3 separate regions of the Homo sapiens genome follow, and all the other regions are linked to region 3. The links are contacts of gene promoters, found by promoter capture Hi-C in human tissues and cell types (Jung and others, 2019). All regions are on one chromosome and are shown on one strand. The core of a region is centred on a gene start or on the middle of the fragment in contact, and the rest is flanking DNA. Distances in the headings are between cores, read along the strand shown. Region 1 has its middle 38 kb from the start of ZNF248-AS1. Region 2 has its middle 15 kb from the start of ZNF37A. Region 3 holds the start of ZNF33A (zinc finger protein 33A).

The links. Contacts are between HindIII fragments. The study calls those that stand out against the background at their distance.
Region 1: a contact is called between a fragment that was not itself captured here and the fragment with the promoter of ZNF33A in region 3, in 2 of the 25 tissues and cell types used here (mesenchymal stem cells and thymus).
Region 2: a fragment that was not itself captured here is called in contact with the fragment with the promoter of ZNF33A in region 3 in 6 of the 25 tissues and cell types used here (H1 embryonic stem cells, adrenal gland, dorsolateral prefrontal cortex and 3 more).

What each region holds. Positions count from the first base shown.
Region 1 is chr10:37,894,046-37,897,381 of GRCh38, reverse strand. It overlaps the pseudogene ZNF33CP. Among named protein-coding and RNA genes, the nearest start is that of ZNF248-AS1, 38 kb to the right of the region's middle. RefSeq lists an enhancer at 1-159. The HindIII fragment of the contact is 3,993 bases long and covers 1-3,336 here.
Region 2 is chr10:38,077,477-38,080,696 of GRCh38, reverse strand. It overlaps the pseudogene EIF3LP3. Among named protein-coding and RNA genes, the nearest start is that of ZNF37A, 15 kb to the left of the region's middle. The HindIII fragment of the contact is 6,422 bases long and covers 1-3,220 here.
Region 3 is chr10:38,009,373-38,012,727 of GRCh38, reverse strand. It overlaps ZNF33A (zinc finger protein 33A), which reads right to left and starts at 2,053. Exons shown (of 5, transcript NM_006954.2): 1 at 1,945-2,053; 2 at 378-430. The coding sequence starts at 386. RefSeq lists an enhancer at 1,351-1,530. The HindIII fragment of the contact is 9,281 bases long and covers 1-3,355 here.

The DNA.
Region 1 (3,336 bases), core at 353-2,852, 110 kb after region 3:
GTTTGATCTCAGACTGCTGTGCTAGCAATCAGCGAGACTCCGTGGGCCCAGGACCCTCCGAGCCATGTGCGGGATATAATCTCGTGGTGCGCCGTTTTTTAAGCCCGTCGGAAAAGCGCAGTATTCGGGTGGGAGTGACCCGATTTTCCAGGTGCCGTCCATCACCCCTTTCTTTGACTCAGAAAGGGAACTCCCTGACCCCTTGCGCTTCCCAAGTGAGGCAATGCCTCGCCCTGCTTCGGCTCGCGCACAGTGCACGCACCCACTGACCTGCGCCCACTGTCTGGCACTCCCTAGTGAGATGAACCCGGTACCTCAGATGGAAATGCAGAAATCACCCGTCTTCTGCGTCGCTCACCCTGGGAGCTGTAGACCGGAGCTGTTCCTATTTGGCCATCTTGGCTCCTCCCCGTCTATTCTCTTATTTACTTTGGAAGATGACTTATGGTAAAAGGTTTGCCAAATTCTTTACATTCACAGGGGTCATGTCCTATTTGATTTCTCCTACGTATTTTCAGGTATGAATTGCTTGAGAAAGATTTCTCTCATTTCTACATTTATAAGCTTTTTCCCATGTGTATCCTTGGATGTGCTATGAGACTTGATTTCTCAGAGGGTTTCCCACACTGGTTACATTCATAGGGTTTCTCCCTTGTACTTCTCTGATGTACTTTGAGGCCTGAGCTGCAACTGAAGCTTTTCCCACACTGATTACATTCATAGGGTTTCTCTACTGTATGTGTTCTCTAATGTTTAGTGAGATCTGACTTATGATAGAAGGACTTCCCTCATTCATTACATTTATAAGGTTTTTCCCCTGTGTGTATTCTCTGATGTACAGTAAGGACTGATTTCTCAGAGAAGGACTTCCCACACTCATTACATCCATAGGGCTTCTCCCCTGTGTGTGTTCTCTGATGTGATTTGAGGACTGAGTTGCAAATAAAGGTTTTCCCACATTTATTACAGTAATAAGATTTCTCCCCTCTGTGTGTTCTCTTATGTACTGTATAGTCTGCCTTATGGTAGAAGGTTTTCCCACATTTTTTACACACATAGGGTTTGTCTCCTGTATGCATTCTCTGGTGTATTGTAAGGTATGAATTCCTAGAGAAGAATTTCCCACATTCCTTACATTCACAGGGCTTCTCACCTGTGTGTGTTCTCTGATGTTTGGTTAGGTCTGATTTATTGTAGAAGGTTTTTCCACGTGCATTACATTTATAAGGTTTTTCCCCTGTGTGTATTCTCTGATGTACTGTGAGGACTGATTTCTCAGAGAAGGATTTCCCACACTCAGTATATTCATAGGGTTTCTCCTTTGCATGTGTTCTCTGATGTACTTTTAGGCCTGAGTTACGACTAAAAGTTTTCCCACATTGAGTACATTCATAGGGTTTTCCCCCTAGGTGAGTCTTCTGATGTTTAGTGGCATCAGACTTGTGGCAAAAGGTTTTGCTACATACCTTACATTCATAGGGTTTCTCGCCTGGGTGAGTTCTCTGATGTATTGTAAGATATGAACTCCTAGAGAAAGATTTCCCACATTCATTACATTCATAGGGTTTCTCACCTGTATATGTTTTACGATGTATTGTGAGAACAGAGTTGCTTATGAAGGTTTTTCCACATTGATTACATTCATAGGGTTTCTCCCCTGTGTGAATTCTCTGATGTACTGTAAGATATGACTTATGATAGAAGCTTTTTCTACATTCCTTGCATTCACAGGGTTGCTCTCCTGTGTGAGTTCTCTGATGTATTATGAGGTGTGAATTCCTAGAAAAGCATTTCCCACATTCCTTACATAGGGTTTCTCTCCTGTGTGGACTCTCTGATGTAGAGTGAGGAGAGATTTCCTAGAAAAGCATTTTTCACATTTATTACATTCATAGGGTTTCTCCCCTGTATGGATTCTTTGATGTTTGGTTAGCTTTGACTTTTCATAGAATGGTTTTACACATGGCTCACATCCACAGACTTCCTCTCCTCTGTGTGTTCTCTGAGTTACATTAAGTACTGACTTCTCGCACAAAGCTTCCCCTGATTTGTTACTTTCAAATATTTTCTCTCTTGTGTTAGGAAAGCTTGATCTGTTAAAATTCCTACACTTTCAATATGTTTATAGTGTTTCACCTCCAAATGAACTTTATGTTTCAAGAAAGGGGACTTCTCAAAGGTTTTTTCATATTCATTAAACTCATAAAAGTTTTCTCTTTTTTCTGACATTTTATGGACCATGAGAGTTGAATTATTACAGAACACTTTATTACATTCATTGTGTACACAAGGACTCGCTCCTGTGTAAGCTTGCTTATATGTAATGAAAACTGCCTTTCCATAGAAATCCTTTTCACATTCCTTATATTCAAAAGATTGCTCTAAATTTTGAATTCTCAGATATGAAATGAAGTCCTCCTTATGACTGAGACATTTTCCATTTTGAATAAACTCATAAGGTTTCTCTTCCATATGAGTTTTTTCATGGTTACTATTGAGGAATAGTTTTCCATATGCACTGAGGTCATGAGGCATCTTTCTTAAATAGTTTTTCTTACTATTAAATAAATCTGAAATGTATTGCAAACTCATACCACATAAGTCACATTTACAAGGTATTTTTATGGAAGGAAGTTGGTGTATGCTGAAATCAAACACTTTTCCTACTATGTTACCTCTCTCTATAGTCAGTGTTCTATTGTTGATATATGGAGCTTGCCAGATATGTCTGTCCTGGATTTCCTGACAGTGCTCTAGTTGATCATCCACTTTGCAGACTTCTAGAAATAAGAAAAAATAACCACAACTTATGAGTCTTGTGATATTTGTGATGAAATTACACTTACATACATACGCGCTTTTATATGTAGTTGACTTAGTTTCCTGGAATAAAGTAATCCAAAAAGTGTTAATCTCCTCCAGCCCTTTGGCTAGAAGAAAATAAACATGAAACCTTATAATGTGGAAAGTAGGGTGGAAATTTAGAACACACAATGGGCAATTTACAAATACGTACTTTGAAACAACACAGAGGTTACAAATAACCATAAAGCACAGTGAATATAGAATAGACACAAATAATGACATAAAACATTAGATATAAAAATGATACTAAAAATATATAAAATAAATAATATAAATATAAAAATGGCTAATCTAGAAATGGGACATGCAGAGAATGAGGGGGCAAGGAAAACTAGTAGTTAACAGTGTTCTAGAAAAATATCAGAGGAGGCCAGGCGTGGTGGCTCACACCTGTAATCTCAGCACTTCGGGAAGCCCAGGAGGGAGGATCACCTGAGGTTGGGAGTTCAAGACCAGCCTGACCAACATGAA
Region 2 (3,220 bases), core at 102-2,601, 69 kb before region 3:
GGACCACATACAAGTATGAGATGATTAACAAGCAGAATGAGCAGATGCATGCACTGCTGGCCATTGCCCTCACGATGTACCCCATGAGTATTGATGAGAGCATTCACCTCCAGCGGTGGGATAAATACAGCAACAAGATGCTGTGCATGCAGAAAGGTGACCCAGAAGTCTATGAAGAACTTTTCAGTTACTTCTGCCCCAAGTTCCTGTCGCCTGTAGTGCCCAACTACGATAATGTGCACCCCAACTACCACAAAGAGCCCTTCCTGCAGCAGCCGAAGGTGTTTTCTGATGAAGTACAGCAGCAGGCCCAGCTTTCAACCATCCGCAGCTTCCTCAAGCTCTACACCACCATGCCTGTGGCCAAGCTGGCTGGCTTCCTGGACCTCACAGAGCAGGAGTTCAGGATCCAGCTTCCTGTCTTCAAACACAAATTGAAGAACCTGGTGTGGACCAGCAGCATCACAACCCTGGATGATGAATTTCAGTCAGCCTCAGAGGTTGACTTCTACATTGATAAGGACATGATCCACATCATGGACACCAAGGTCGCCAGGCGCTATGGGAATTTCTTCATCCGTCAGATCCACAGATTCGAGGAGCTTAATCGAACCCTGAAGAAGATGGGACAGAGACCCTGACGACATTCACATACATTATTCAGGAACCTGTTTTGATATATTATAGGCTACCGTGAAACCTTTACCTAGATCAACCATCAGCCTGTCAACTCAGTTAACAAGATAAGGACCAAAGTGTTTCAAGTGGATCTCAGTAAAGGATCTTTGGAGCCAGAAAAAAAAAAAAAAAAAGAAAAAAAAGATTTGTTCTCAATGAGATTACACGTGGTAATAATTTTTAATTCTCAAATCTGTCTCTTTTTAAAACTTCTGAGATTTATATCTCAGAAGTTCAACCTTTACTATTGTTTTACACATTATTTACAGATCACACATCATTGCCCTCTGTTTCTTTTCCCCTTCAAAAGGTGTATCTTTTTACTTCACTAGAACGGTAATTTTGTCCTTCAACTTTTCCATCAGCTCTTTTAACTTTTCCCTCATATTCTATTTCTGCTGTTATAATACTAAAATATTGATCTCAAAGGTTAAAAAAAATTTTTGCAGATGTAACATGATTTTATATTCTTAACTTTTTGATATGTCTGAATTGTTGCAAGTAATCAGGAAACTTCCCATTCTATTATTAGGTTGGTGCACAAGTAATTGTGGTTTTTGCCATTACTTTCAATGGCAAAAAACCACAATTACTGCACCAACCTAATACTAGGAGCCATATATCTACCTGCTCATGGTGCTAGTTTTCATGTTTACATTCCTCTATAGTACAATGTTCACTCACGACCTTGAATACATTATGCCTGTGTCTAATTAAATTCAAGTATTCATTTCATCAGGTTTGACTTCCAAGTTATTTAAATAGGCTTTATTTAGGTACTCCCCATTCTCAAGTATGCCTTACTCCAGGTTGCTCAGATAGTTGCTCAGATTAACTCAGTGAGACAGTTGGGGTCACAGATTTAATTCATTAAACCACTAAAGCATCAGCCCAGACAGGCATATTTTCAGTTAATTTCAATTAGCCACTCATGAAAGGTTGGCCAGTTGAATGGAAGTTGATTCTTGGCACAGCCATCAACTGGCAATTGGTTTAAAATGTCCTGAGTTCTGAGCCAGATTGGGGGCTGATATAGTTTGGATATGTGTCCCTGCCCAAATCTTATGGTGAATTGTAATCCTCAGTATTGGAGATGACTGGGTGAGAGGTGACTGGGTCACGGGAGTGTATATCTCATAAATGCTTGTTGTTGCTCTTGCAATAGTGAGATCTGGTTTAAAAGTGTGTGACACCTCCTCCTACCTTGCTCCTGCTCTGGCCATGTGATGTGCATGCTCCCACTTAGCCTTCTGTTATGATTCTAAGTTTCCTGAGGCCTCCCCAGAAACCATGCAGATGTCAGTATCATGCTTCCTGTAAAGCTTTCAGAACCCTGAGCCAGTTAAATCTCTTTTCTATATAAATTACTCAGTCTCAGGAATTTGTTTTTTGGTTGTTGTTGTTGTTGCTTTTTTTTGGGGGGGGGGGGGTTGTTTGTTTTGAGACAGAGTCTCGCTCTGTCGCCCAGGCTGGAGTGTGGTGGCGTGATCTTGGCTCACTGCAACCTCCTCCTCCTGGGTTCAAGCAATTCTCCTCCCTCAGCCTCCTGAGTAGCTGGGATTACAGGCGTGTGCCACCACGCCTGGTTAATTTTTGTATTTTTAGTAGAGACAGGATTTCACCATGTTGGTCAGGCTGGTCTCAAACTTTTGACCTCATGATCTGCCCACCTTGGCCTCCCAAAGTGCTGGGATTACAGGCATGAGCCACCGCACCTGGCCAGGAACTTCTTTATAGCAATGTGAGAATGGCCTAATACAGAAAATTGGTACCAAGGAGTGGGGTATTACTATAAAGGTACCTGAAAATGTGGAAGCAGCTTTGGAACTAGGTAATGGACAGAGGTTGAAAGAGTTTGGAGAACTTGGAAGAAGACAGGAAGATGAGGGAAAGTTTAGAACTTCTTAGAAACTGGTTAAATGATTGTGACCAAAATGCTGATAGGGATATGTAAAGTGAAGTCCAGGCTGATGAGGTCTCAGATGGAAATGAGGAACTTATTGGAAACTAGAGCAAAAGTCACACGTTATGCCTTAGCAAAGAGCTTGGCTGGATTTCATCTATGTCCTAGGGATCTATGGAAGTTTAAACTTGACAGTGATATCGTAGAGTATCTGGCAAAAAAAAAAAAAAAAAAATTCTAAGCAGCAAAGTGTTCAAGTGGCATGGGCCAGGTATGGTGGCTCACACCAGTAATCCTAGCACTTTGAGAGGCCAAGGCAGACAGATCACTTTAGCCCACATGGCAAAATCCCATCTCTAAAAATATAAAAAAAATAGCTGGCATGGTGGCTTGAGCCCATAGTCCCAGCTACTCAGGAGGCTGAGATGGGACAATTACCTAAGCCTGGGAAGTCTAGGGTGCAGTGAGCCATGATCATGGCATGGCACTTCAGCCTGGGTGACAGAGTGAGACCTTGTCTCAAAAAAAAAAGAAAAAACAAACAAAAAAAAAACACAAAAAAACTGATGTGACTGCTTCTAACAGCCTATGCTTTGATTTGGGAGCAAAGAAATAAGTTGGAACTTCTATTTAAAAGGT
Region 3 (3,355 bases), core at 804-3,303:
AGACACGGTGCCTCACGCTTGTAATCCCAGCACTTTGGGAGACCAAGGCGGGCGGATTGACTGAGCTCAGGAGTTTGCGACCAGCCTAGGCAACACGGTGAAACCCTGTCTCTATTAAAACGCAAAAAATTAGCCAGGCGTGGCAGCATGCGCCTGCAGTCCCAGCTACTCGGGGGGCTGAGGCAGGAGAATTGCTTGAACCCGGGAGGCAGAGGTTGCAGTGAACCGAGATGGGGACATTGTACTCCAGCCTGGGTGACAGAGTGAGACTCCGTCTCACAAAAAAAAAAAAAAAAAAAAAACAAACACCATATCGACTCTTACAAATCTCACAAAGTCCACTGCAAAATAAAGTAGGGAATTAATAAACAACTTACCTTGTTCATTTTGTTCTGTTCTTGGAAAGACGGAGACAACTCTGAAGATACAGCTGAGTTAGAAAAAGAGGAATGGGGTCATGAAAGATTTGGCCTGCCTGGCAACTCCTGGATTCTTCCGCCCTAAGAAGCCATACACACCCACTAGGTAAAATGCTTCCTCTGGGAGAGTATCAATGTCCTCTGACACTTTGGAATAGGGGGTAGAAATGGTGGAAGAACACTTCGGAATAGGCGGTAGAAATGGTGAAAGAATAACTCCAACATAATTATGTAGCTCTTGGGCACAAGATTTTTTACCGGGTGAAAGTAAATATTTGCTTCCTAAGGATTTCAATCTCCCTCGGTGTTCACAAAAAAAAGTATAATGACAATATTGGCCAAACAAGTTAACAATATATTTAATGAAGGAACATTAACACTAAAACCATTGTAAAAAATAGGACTAAGCTATCTATTTTCCCAGTAATGTTACTTAACCTCTGGTGAGTGACTCCACAGAAAGCCATAAGCGGCAGTGCTTCAAAGAAAAAATCAGTTTTAATTTCTTCATCTAACTTTGTTGCTATTTCTCAAAGGGATATTTTAAACTTGCTTTGATGTGTGTGGAAAAGTAGACAGTACTGGCTTAGGGGTCAGGAGATGTGACTTAGTCTTCCCTACTAACTGTGATCCTGAACAAGTCAGTGACCTTAACAAACAAAAAAACAAAAAAAATCTTTTTCTTCTAACAAATGAGGCAAAATTAGGTAATTCTTTGTTTTTGTTTTTTTTTGAGACGGAGTTTCGCTCTTGTTGCCCAGTCTGGAGTGCAATAGTGCGATCTTGGCTACCTGTAACCTCCGCCTCCCGGGTTCAAGCAATTTTCCGCCTCAGTAGCTGGGATTACAGGCATGCGCCACCACGCCCGGCTACTTTTCGTATTTTTAGTAGAGACGGGGTTTCACCATGTTGGTCAGGCTGGTCTCGAATTTCTGACCTCAGGTGATCCACCCGCCTCGGCCTCCCAAAGTGCTGGGATTACAGGCGAGAGCCACCGCGCCAGGCCAAAATTAGGTAATTCTTGAAGATCTTTCCTGAGTGCAAGATCAAGTCAGGACAGAGGAACAGCAAATACCAAGATGCAGTGATGGACCTGACTGGAGGTCAGTTCGGAACCTAAAGAGGATGAATGCAATACGTGCAACCGAGTCTGCCGGTCTGGCGGGCGACTGCACCCGCCTTTCCCCGCCCACGTACCGCGGCGCCCTAGCACACGCGCACAGGCTAGACAAGAGAACTGCCCCTCCCGCAAGGCTCAGCGCGCGGACTGCGCAAGCGCACATGCCCTCCTCCGCGGCCCCCACAAATGGGGCGACACACGCTGCGTACCCTGCTCCGTACAGAGGCCGCGCCTTTGAGGAACCGGCCTAGCGTCGTGGCCCACACGCTGCAGCCCCGCCGTCCCCGCCTTCCCCTATGAGGTCCCCGGGCCTCCTCCCCACCACTTGGTACCGGCCCCCTGCCGCCCGCCCCAGGAGTCGCGCGGGGCTCCCTCTCTCTCCCTGCCCAACCCACTGGGGCTTACCCCACTCCCTCGTCGGGTTGCATTCGCCATAGAAAAGCGCGTAGACCCTTGAAATCCCGGGACCGCCTCCCACGCAAAACCTGAGAAAAACAAAAGGAAAGGCGGAAACGCAGACGTAGCCGGCGGACGAGGCATGCGCAGAGCCCACGCGCACAGCTTGATGCTGTTGGCGCCCTACCTGGAAACTACCTTTCCCGTGAGGCCGGGCGAGCAGCCCTTCGGATTGGTAGAGAAGTGCCCCGCTAGGCAGTGGGCAGATGCGGTCTGAGTTGGTGCTGGAACTGCCTGCAGCCCTGGCTTTCCCCGGGGCACTCCAAAGGGATATACTGCGGGGGAGGTCTGTGGGCAGTTTAGACGCAGACGCTCAAGGAAAGGACCGCTGCGTGTCATTTTCCGTTTAAATGTTAGGAAATAGATCTCGTCCATACAGTTTAAAAGACTTTCATGCTATCAGCGGTTCTTTGGGAGCGGGGGAAAAAAGGGGAAGGTGCGGCCGGAAAGCTACTTCATCAAAATGGTTAAAGCAATAAACGGAAATTGTAGCTCAGTAAGGAACTAGACATAATCTGAAAGAAGAAAATAAATGTCACGTATGATTTCCTCTGTGACATTAAAATTGCTTGACTAAATGGAAATACTTTTAGTCTATCTGTACCTTTCTTAGGAAGACAAAATTCCTAAAAGAATATCAACAAATTTTTGTTATGTATTTTTTCTCTTTGATCTTTAGTGTATTCTGTACTTCACAAAAGCATTCTCAACTTTATCTAGAATAAGTAAAAACCCAAATGAACAGCCAGTATACATTTTAAAAAGCAGGAAAAAAATGCCTAAGGAATATCTGTATCTATCTACATCTATCTATATAATATTGCTCTATTCAAAGTAGTTTGGCACCTGCTCCATGGAAATAAGACAGCTTAAGAGTATTCTTTAATGTGTAGTAGATACAGCATTTCAAAACAGTGAGGGAAAGAATGGAGTATTCCAAAGAGCATGTCATTCCGAGCAATTTGGAATGTAGAGATATACATAGATCACACATGATAAAATCTCACATGTATACAATACTTAAACATTTAAACCACTAAAAGAGTAAAAATTTTTGAAAATTGACAAGTGGACCAGGCACAGTGGCCCACACCTGTAACCCCAGCACTTTGGGAGGCGGAGGCAGGAGGACCACTTGATCCTTGGAGTTCAAGACCAGCCTGGGCACTATAGTGGGACCCCCATCTCTACAAAAAACTAAAAATAACAATTAGCCTGGCATGTAGGCAGGCACCTGTGATCCCAGCTACTCAGGAGGCTGAGGTTGGAGGATCACTTGAGCCCCGGGCTGCAGTAAGCCATCATGGCACCACTGCACTCCAGCATGGGTGACAAAGTGAGACCTTGTCTCAAAAAAAAC